2 separate regions of the Homo sapiens genome follow, and region 1 is linked to region 2. Evidence: promoter capture Hi-C in human tissues and cell types (Jung and others, 2019). All regions are on one chromosome and are shown on one strand. Each heading gives the region's core, a stretch centred on a gene start or on the middle of the fragment in contact. The rest is flanking DNA. Distances are from core to core; before and after follow the strand shown. Region 1 has its middle 14 kb from the start of TRAPPC9. Region 2 holds the start of PTK2 (protein tyrosine kinase 2).

Region 1 (3,981 bases), core at 528-3,027, 530 kb before region 2:
TATGTTTATATTATATATAATTGGAACAACTGGTGAAACTTGAATAGAGCCTGAGGATCCTGTGGCAGCCACGTATGGATGTTACTGTCCTGACCTTGAGGGCTGTGTTGTGGTTATGCAGAATATCCTTGTTTGTGGAAAAGACACAGTCAGCTCTCCAGGGGCGCTGGGGTATCCCTCAGCTACTTACTCTAAACCAATTCAAGAAAATGAGTTATTTGTACTGTACTTGCGACTTAAGTTTGAAGTCGTTTCAGAAATTATTAAAAAGAGGATTCCAGAGAAAGTCCAAGCCGTTAAAAATACCCCATGATTTTCCTGGCCTGACTCAGAACTACTGAATGAAAACACTGGGGGCGTGGCCTTGAGATGTGTGTTTTCCAAAGCACAGCCGGGTCTGGAAAGCAGCTACTCCCCACGGGCTGGGAGAGGGAAGCACAGCCTGTGCACACAGACCGGTTCCTCTCATCCTCCTTTCATCCACATCACCATCCAGCAGCTACGAGAATTCGTTCCACACAAGTTGCCTGGTTCAATTCTGCCTCCGCTGATCTCTGAGGTTTTTTGTTTTGTGTTGTTTTTTTGAGATGGAGTTTCGCTCTTGTTGCCTAGGCTGGAGTGCAATGGCGCTATCTTGGCTCACTGCAACCTCTGCCTCCCGGGTTCAAGTGATCCTCCTGCCTTGGCCTCCCAAGTAGCTGGGATTATAGGCGCCTGCCACCACGTCAGGCTAATTTTTTGTATTTTTAGTAGAGACAGGGTTTTACTATGTTACCCAGGCTGATCTCGAACTCCTGACCTCAGATGATCCACCCACCTTGGCCTCCCAAAGTGCTGGGATTACAGGCATGAGCCACCGTGCCCGGCTGAGGCATTGTTTCCCATTCCTGTCAATAAGCTGCAGGCCTTCTCCCTCCCACTTCAAAAAGTACCACTCTCAACTAAGAAAACTGAGATCCTCTTTAGAAGTGTTCCTCTCAGAGCACTCCCCAAGGAAGCTCTGGGGTGCCTGGCAAATGAGAAGCTTCTGAGAGCCTCAGTCGGTCCAGCCCCACATTCCTGGTGCTTTATGGTCCCCTTTGCTTTGACTATTAAGACACAGTCCTGACCTGGTGCGGTGGCCCATGCCTGTAATCCCAGCTCTTTGGGAGGCCGAGGCGGGTGGATCACCTTAGGTCAGGAGTTCAAGACCAGCCTAGCCAACATGGTGAAACCCTGTCTCTACTAAACACAAAAATTAGCCAAGCGTGGTGGCGGGCAACTGTAACCCCAGCTACTCAGGAGGCTGAGGCAGGGGAATTGCTTGAACTCAGGAGGCAGAGGCTGCAGTGGGTTGAGATCATGCCACTACACTCCAGCCTGAGCAACAGAGCGAGACTCTGTCTCAAAAAAAAATACATAGGAGTTGTGGCCTGTGGTGGGGAGTGGACTTGAGGGGCCTCCTCCCCATCCCTCACAATCCACAGGAAACCTGCTCCAGCTCTGCCTAGCTCGGGACAAAGAGTACTGCCTTTCCTCTTTTCTGCCTGGACCCACCCTGCTCCAGCTTTGCCATCAGTCTTTATGCACCCACATATCCCCATAAGCCAGTTCAGGGGCCCCAGGAAGGCAAACCTCAATAGGACCTTATAAGGCTTCCTGATGGTGGGATGCAACACTCTGAACATACTAAAAGCCAATGAATCATACTCTAAATGGGTGAATTTTCTAACAGGTGTCTTCTATCTCAATAAACCTGTTCAAAACAAAGCGCTTCCTGCCTACCAGTCCATCCTCACTGGCTGCAGTTCCCAACCTCATACCATGGTTCAGCCTTGCTAAACTACTTGTTTTCTGGATGTCACTCTTCCGTCCCATCCTCATTTACTTGCTCTCAAACCTTTTTTTTTCACTTGCTCTCAAACTTTTTTTTTTTTTTGAGACAGAATCTTGCGCTGGGTGTGGTGGCTCACGCCTGTATTCCCAACACTTTGGGAGGCCGAGGCAGGCGAATCACGAGGTCAGGAGATTGAGACCATCCTGGCTAACATGGTGAAACCCCGTCTCTACTAAAAATACAAAAAATTAGCCGGGCGTGGTGGCGGGCACCTGTAGTCCCAGCTACTCGGGAGGCTGAGGCAGGAGAATGGCGTGAACCTGGGAGGTGGAGCTTGCAGTGAGCCGAGATCGCGCCACTGCACTCCAGCCTGGGCGACAGAGCGAGACTCCGTCTCAAAAAAAAAAAAAAAAAAAAAGAATCTTGCTCTGTCGCCCAGGCTGGAATGCAGTGGCACAATCTCGGCTCACTGCAGCCTCTGCCTCCTGGGTTCAAGCGACTCTTCTGCCTCAGCCTCCCAAGTAGCTGGGATTGCAGGCATATGCCACCATGCCTGGCTAATGTTTTTGTATTTTTGTATTTTTAGTAGAGACGGGGTTTCCCCATGTTGGCCAGGCTGGTCTCAAACTCCTGACCTCAGGTGATCCGCCCACCTTGGCCTCCCAAAGTGCTGGGATTACAGGCGTGAGCCACCGCGCCTGGCCAAAGCCAATTTTTAAAAAGTGAAAAACAAATATAGAGGGGATTGTAGCATCTAGACATGTTTTCACCGTAAACAAATAGAAAACCGGGGGTAGGGGGCAGAAAAGGGAACTGTTTTCAGACTCGACAACAGGCAGCTCAGGACTGTTCCCTGAGAAACAAACAAATGAGAAATAAACAAGTGGAGCTTTGTGCTCACTGGGCTTTCTGCCTGGAGTCTATATCTGATCCATGGTACAGAGGGCGGGAACTCAAACAAAGGCCACCAGTGTCACCCAGTTGAGGAGACAGAGAATGGACAGAAAGGAGCTAGGGAGAGGTAACCCAAAAAGTTGTGTATGAGCTACTGGGCTCACCGCTGAGATGTGCACACATGGATCAGAATGGCTGAAATTAGGCCTGGCAGGGTGGCTTACACCTGTAATCCCAGCACTCTGGGAGGCCAAGACAGGAGAATCACTTGAGCCCAGGAGTTTCAGACCAGCCTGAGCAGTGTGGTGAGACCCCGTCTCTACAAAAAATCAACAAATTAGCCAGGTGTGATAAAGCATGCCCATAGTTCCAGCTACTCAGGAGGCTGAGGTAGGAGGCTCTCTGGCTTGGGAGGTCGAGGCTGCAAGTGAGCTATGATTGTGTGACTGTACTCCTCCAGCCTGGGTAACAGAGTGAGACCCTATCAAAAAAAAAAAAAAAAAAAAAAAGCTAAAATTCAAAGACTCATGACACCAAGTGTTAGGGAGACACTGGAATTCTCATGCATTGCTGGTGGGAATGTAAGATGTACAAGTACTTTGGAACAAGGTCTGGCGATTTTTTATAAAATTAAACATATGCTTACTTTTTGCCCCAGCCATTCAGTGTCTAGGTATTTATCCAAAATAAATCAAAACAACCATATGTTCACCAAAATACTTGTCCAAGAATGATGACAGCAGCTTTATTTAAAATTGCTGCCAGGCGCGGTGGCTCAGGCCTGTAATCCCAGCACTTTGGGAGGCCGAGGCAGGCGGATCACGAGGTCAGGAGATCGAGACCATCCTGGCTAACAGGGTGAAACCCCATCTCTACTAAAAAATACAGAAAACTAGCCAGGCGTGGTGGCAGGTGCCTGTAGTCCCAGCTACTTGGGAGGCTGAGGCAGGAGAATGGCATGAACCCGGGAGGTGGAGCTTGCAGTGAGCCAAGATCACACCACTGCACTCCAGCCTGGGCGACAGAGTGACACTCTGTCTCAAAAAAAAAAAAAAAAAATTAGCCAGGTGTGGTGGCAACTGCCTGTAGTCCCAGCACTCTGGGAGGCTGAGGCAGGAGAATGGCTTGAACCCAGGAAACAGAGGTTGCAGTGAGCTGAGATCGCACCATTGCACTCCGGCCTGGGTGACACAGCAAGACTCCTTCTCAAAAATAAATAAATAAATAAACAAAATAAATAAATAATTAATTAAAAAATAAAATTGCCAAAA
Region 2 (3,996 bases), core at 890-3,389:
CCAAACCGTAAACATGGAGTTTTGATTTCCATGTCTTTATTTAACCAATGACTTGCTTCTTGATGCATCACCACTGAATGATGTATGGGTCCTTCTAATCAGCGTCTACACTGAAGTCTTAGGTGATTGTCGGCTCCCTTATAAAGGAAGCATGTGTTTTAAATAATCTGTGCCTGTGTTCATTATTAAACTAGATTATTTGATAGTGACCTGAAATTCTTTAAAGGAAAACCTTGTAATATTGATCTTGTTGTTTCTGCAGTTTAATAAACAAGAAGGTTCAAAATGATGGTAGGTTCAGCCTGTTTTTCCCCACCAAGGATAACCACAAATACAAAACACAAAGATATTGGGACACAAACATCCTTAAAATGTTCCTTGTTTGAATATCATAGGGCTTTTCTAATTAATTGGCTAGTATAACTGGATGAAAATATTATCTATACTGTACCCCAACAAAAATACGTTGAATGCTAGTTTACTTTTATGTGTCTTGTAACTAGTTCATCCGTGTGCTTGCATCGCACTGCTCATAAGTTTTCAAATATGGGACGGAGTGCTCAACTCTCGAAGACATCATTTTCATTACCCGTTTCCCAAATAAAATATTAAGGTTGAGGCTCTGGTATTTCATTTCAAATAGTACTGGTCTGTTTTTCCAGCCATGAAAACGTTTACATTCTAAGTAAAAATCCTAGCGATGGTTAAGTCTTAAATACAAATCCCCAAACTCTTGCACTGCCTTCAGCTTTCAGCTTGAATGTATAACCAGTTCCCATAATTACTACAATATTACTATTATCTTAGTCTCATTGCCAAAAACCCAGCTGCAGGCTAACTATGCAAGAATGAGACACTGTTGAAATGACTCGGAAAAAAAAAAAAAAAGAAACTTTACCCTCACTGAATTTAGCTACAAAATTCTGCAATTAAATGAAACCAATTCACACACACACACACACACACACACACACACACACACACCCCTTCTTCTAAGAAAGAACAGGATGCCGCTACACAAGGAACCCAGAGAGAAATTCGGCAAACAGTTGCGCCTAAGCCACCGCGGCAGAGTCGGGGGCTGGGGGCGGGGAAGAGGAGAAAACTTGGGAAGCACAATGACTCCAGTGAGGACTTCAGTGAGGGCTCCAGGGCTCCCGCCAAGAAGCCCACGGGGCTCTACCAAACTTGAGGGTTTGCGTTCGGGGACACGGCGGGCTTGGGGCTCGGGCACCGGCAGGCCGCTCGGAGCCCACCCTTGGCTGCCCGCGAGGCCGCGCCCGGGGGACGGAGGTCGGGCCGTCGCGAGCCTCCCTCTCGCGTCCGGGCGAACCCTGCCGACGTCCCTGCGATTTCCCTCTTCCTCCTCCTGCCTCTCCCCTTTTGTTTTTCAGGCATTGGGTCCGCTCCGGCGGAGGCCGGCCCGTCCTCCCCGCGCCTCTGTCCGCCCTGCGCGCCCCCAGAGCCCCGGCCTCCTCGTCTTCCTCAGGCCCCTCGGCCTCTCCGCGCGCCCGGCCTTTTCGAAAGCCGCCCCCCCCTTCCTCCTCACGTCTCCCGGACTCCCCACGTCCCCCAGCCTTTCTGTCTTCCCCGAACCCCTTGGCCTCCCCGCGCGCCCCCAAAACCCCCGACCTCCTCGAGCTCCCGGCCTCCCCACGTCCCTCAGCCTCCCAGTCTTCCCCAAGCCTCCCGACCACCCAGCGCCCCGAACCCCCGCCTCCCAGCGCGCCCCCTGACCTCCTTAAGCCTCTCGGCCTCCGCGAGGGCCCCCAACCTCCTCACGGCCACCGGCCTCCCCTCCTCCCAGAACCCGGGCCGGGGGCGCGGGAGGGGCCGGTCTCCGCCGCATCCGCCCCGGGACTGGTTGGGCGGCCCCGCTCTGCCCCTCCGCCCTCAGGGCCGCGGCCCAGCCCACGACCGCTGCACAGAAGGAGCCCGCCCAGCCCCCGACCCGCGCCCCGCGCCCGGCGCCCCGCACTCACTCGGACCGCGGCTCGGCGCCGTGAAGCGAAGGCAGACGACGACGGGGCGGCGCTGGGCGACAGCAGCCGCGCTTCCTCCCACGCCTCACGCCGCGGGCTCACAGTGGTCCGGGACCGGCGGCGGCGGCGGCGGCGCGGGCTCGCGCCCTCGAGGCCGTGCTGCGTCGGCGCGGGCCCGCGCGCGTGCGCGGCAGCCGGCTGAGGCGCGCGTCCTCTCTCGGCAGCGCACGCCCGACCCGGTCTCAGTCCGGAGTTCCCGCCTCTCGGGGGGACTGGGCATGCGCGCCGCCCCCGCGCATGCCCAGCGCGCCGCTAGGCTCTGCTCGCGTAATTTGTCCTGTAGTGACCGCGCCGGGGTTTCGGGGTGGCCCGAGGCTGCGCGCGGGCGTGGCGGCCGGACGAGGAAAGCCCTGGTCTCGGGGGTGGCCGGGGTCGCCCCGCCGAGCGGACATCCTGGGGTCCCACCTGCCTCGCTCTCCGCCAGCGGGATTAGACGGACTTCGGGAAAGTCCTCCCCATCTCCTTCCCTGCCCCCAAATCCCGAAGGGGTCCCCTCTGGAGAACCTCCCTCCTGAGCGGCCCTGCGGCCCCGCCCCCAGAGTTGGACGCCCGCTGTCGGGCACCCGCTGCGGGCCCCGGGCCTTGCAGTGCACTCTCCAGGCACCACACCGACCCTAACGAGCGGTTCCTGGGCCCTTTTTGCAGACAAGGAAACTGAGGCTCAGAGATTCTTTTCATGGCATTATAGCTAAGTTGGGCTGGGCCATTATTTGATTTTGGAAGATGAAAAATCATGAAAGGGACTTAGAAGTCCACTGGAGGTAGACAGGTTACCTAAATGAACGCCAGCAGGGAACGAGCCCTGCAATCCCTCCCGAGGGCTACAGACCTGAGACGGGCTCCAGGAAAAGGAGGGAAGGCTCGCCCCGACACCGACCCGGGCTTCCGCGGTGTGAGCCAGTTTCAGCGAGGAGCTAGTTGGTTATGACCGGAACGTGCCGTAGGTGGGGTGGGGGAAATAGCAAAAGGCGAGGTTGGAGGGATTGAAAAATGCAGACGGCTGCGTGGGGCTTGCTTAGGTGCCTGGAGTTTATTCTTTAGGCAACAGGGAACCTTTGGAGGGCTTTAAGCAGGAAGTGATAACTGATTTGTGTTATTTAAAAAAAAAAAAAAGTCACTCTGGCAACCTTGTGGTCGGAAATGAAACCAGAAGAACCCTCAAGGCTGCAACTTTCATTTTTATGGTGTCATTTTGATGCTAACCACAAGCCAGGAAGCAGGACAGACAGGCACCGAGGCCTTTTGAAAGGTGAACACCCTGAAGCCCAGAGAGGTGACACACGTCATTGCATTAGGAGCTTTTATAAAAGTAAAAATGAAGTAAAATAAAAAGCTTTTGCTTATCAAGATTTTACCATATTTAAATGTTTGGGTTGTATTGTTCTTTAATGAGATGTATTAAGGTTGGTGTTTTTCTGGGTTTTGTTACTTTTTACTACATATGAAATTGTAAGGAATTGCCTCTCCATGCCAGCCTCAGGCCTTTGCGCGTGCTATTTGCTCTGCCTGGAACTTCTTGCTCCTCACTTCGTTCAATACCCTGCTTATATATCACCTCATTGATACAGCCGACCACTTCATATAATAGGAACCACCCACTGCCCTGCTATCCTCACACACAGTCCGCACTTAGTCTGCTCTGTTGTTCTCCAAAGCACCTATTGTTCACCATAGCCCAACACTGTGTTCTTGTTTATTTCTTGATTGTCCGCTCTCTCCACTAGAATCTTAGATTCATTAGAGCACGGGCTTTGTTTTGTTCACTAATAGGTCCTGGCACACAGTAAGTATTTGTCAAGTGAATGAACGAAGCTTTGGGTGATGTGAAGTGAGAGCTTATTATTAAAAGGATAAGAAAAGCATGGGAATTAAAAGAGGAGAGTGGAGGCACAAAGGGACTGCATTAAGGATAACTTTGGGGGAAGGGGCTGCACTTAGCATAGTAGACTAAAAA

What was found. The method cuts DNA at HindIII sites, captures the fragments that hold promoters and counts their contacts. A contact is called where the count stands out against the background at its distance.
Region 1: a fragment that was not itself captured here is called in contact with the fragment with the promoter of PTK2 in region 2 in 1 of the 25 tissues and cell types used here (dorsolateral prefrontal cortex).

What each region holds. Positions count from the first base shown.
Region 1 is chr8:140,469,267-140,473,247 of GRCh38, forward strand. No RefSeq gene overlaps it. Among named protein-coding and RNA genes, the nearest start is that of TRAPPC9, 14 kb to the left of the region's middle. The HindIII fragment of the contact is 8,196 bases long and covers 1-3,981 here.
Region 2 is chr8:140,999,143-141,003,138 of GRCh38, forward strand. PTK2 (protein tyrosine kinase 2) reads right to left here and starts at 2,140. Exons shown (of 36, transcript NM_001352702.2): 1 at 1,983-2,140. RefSeq lists silencers at 1,805-2,134, 2,155-2,574. The HindIII fragment of the contact is 8,254 bases long and covers 1-3,614 here.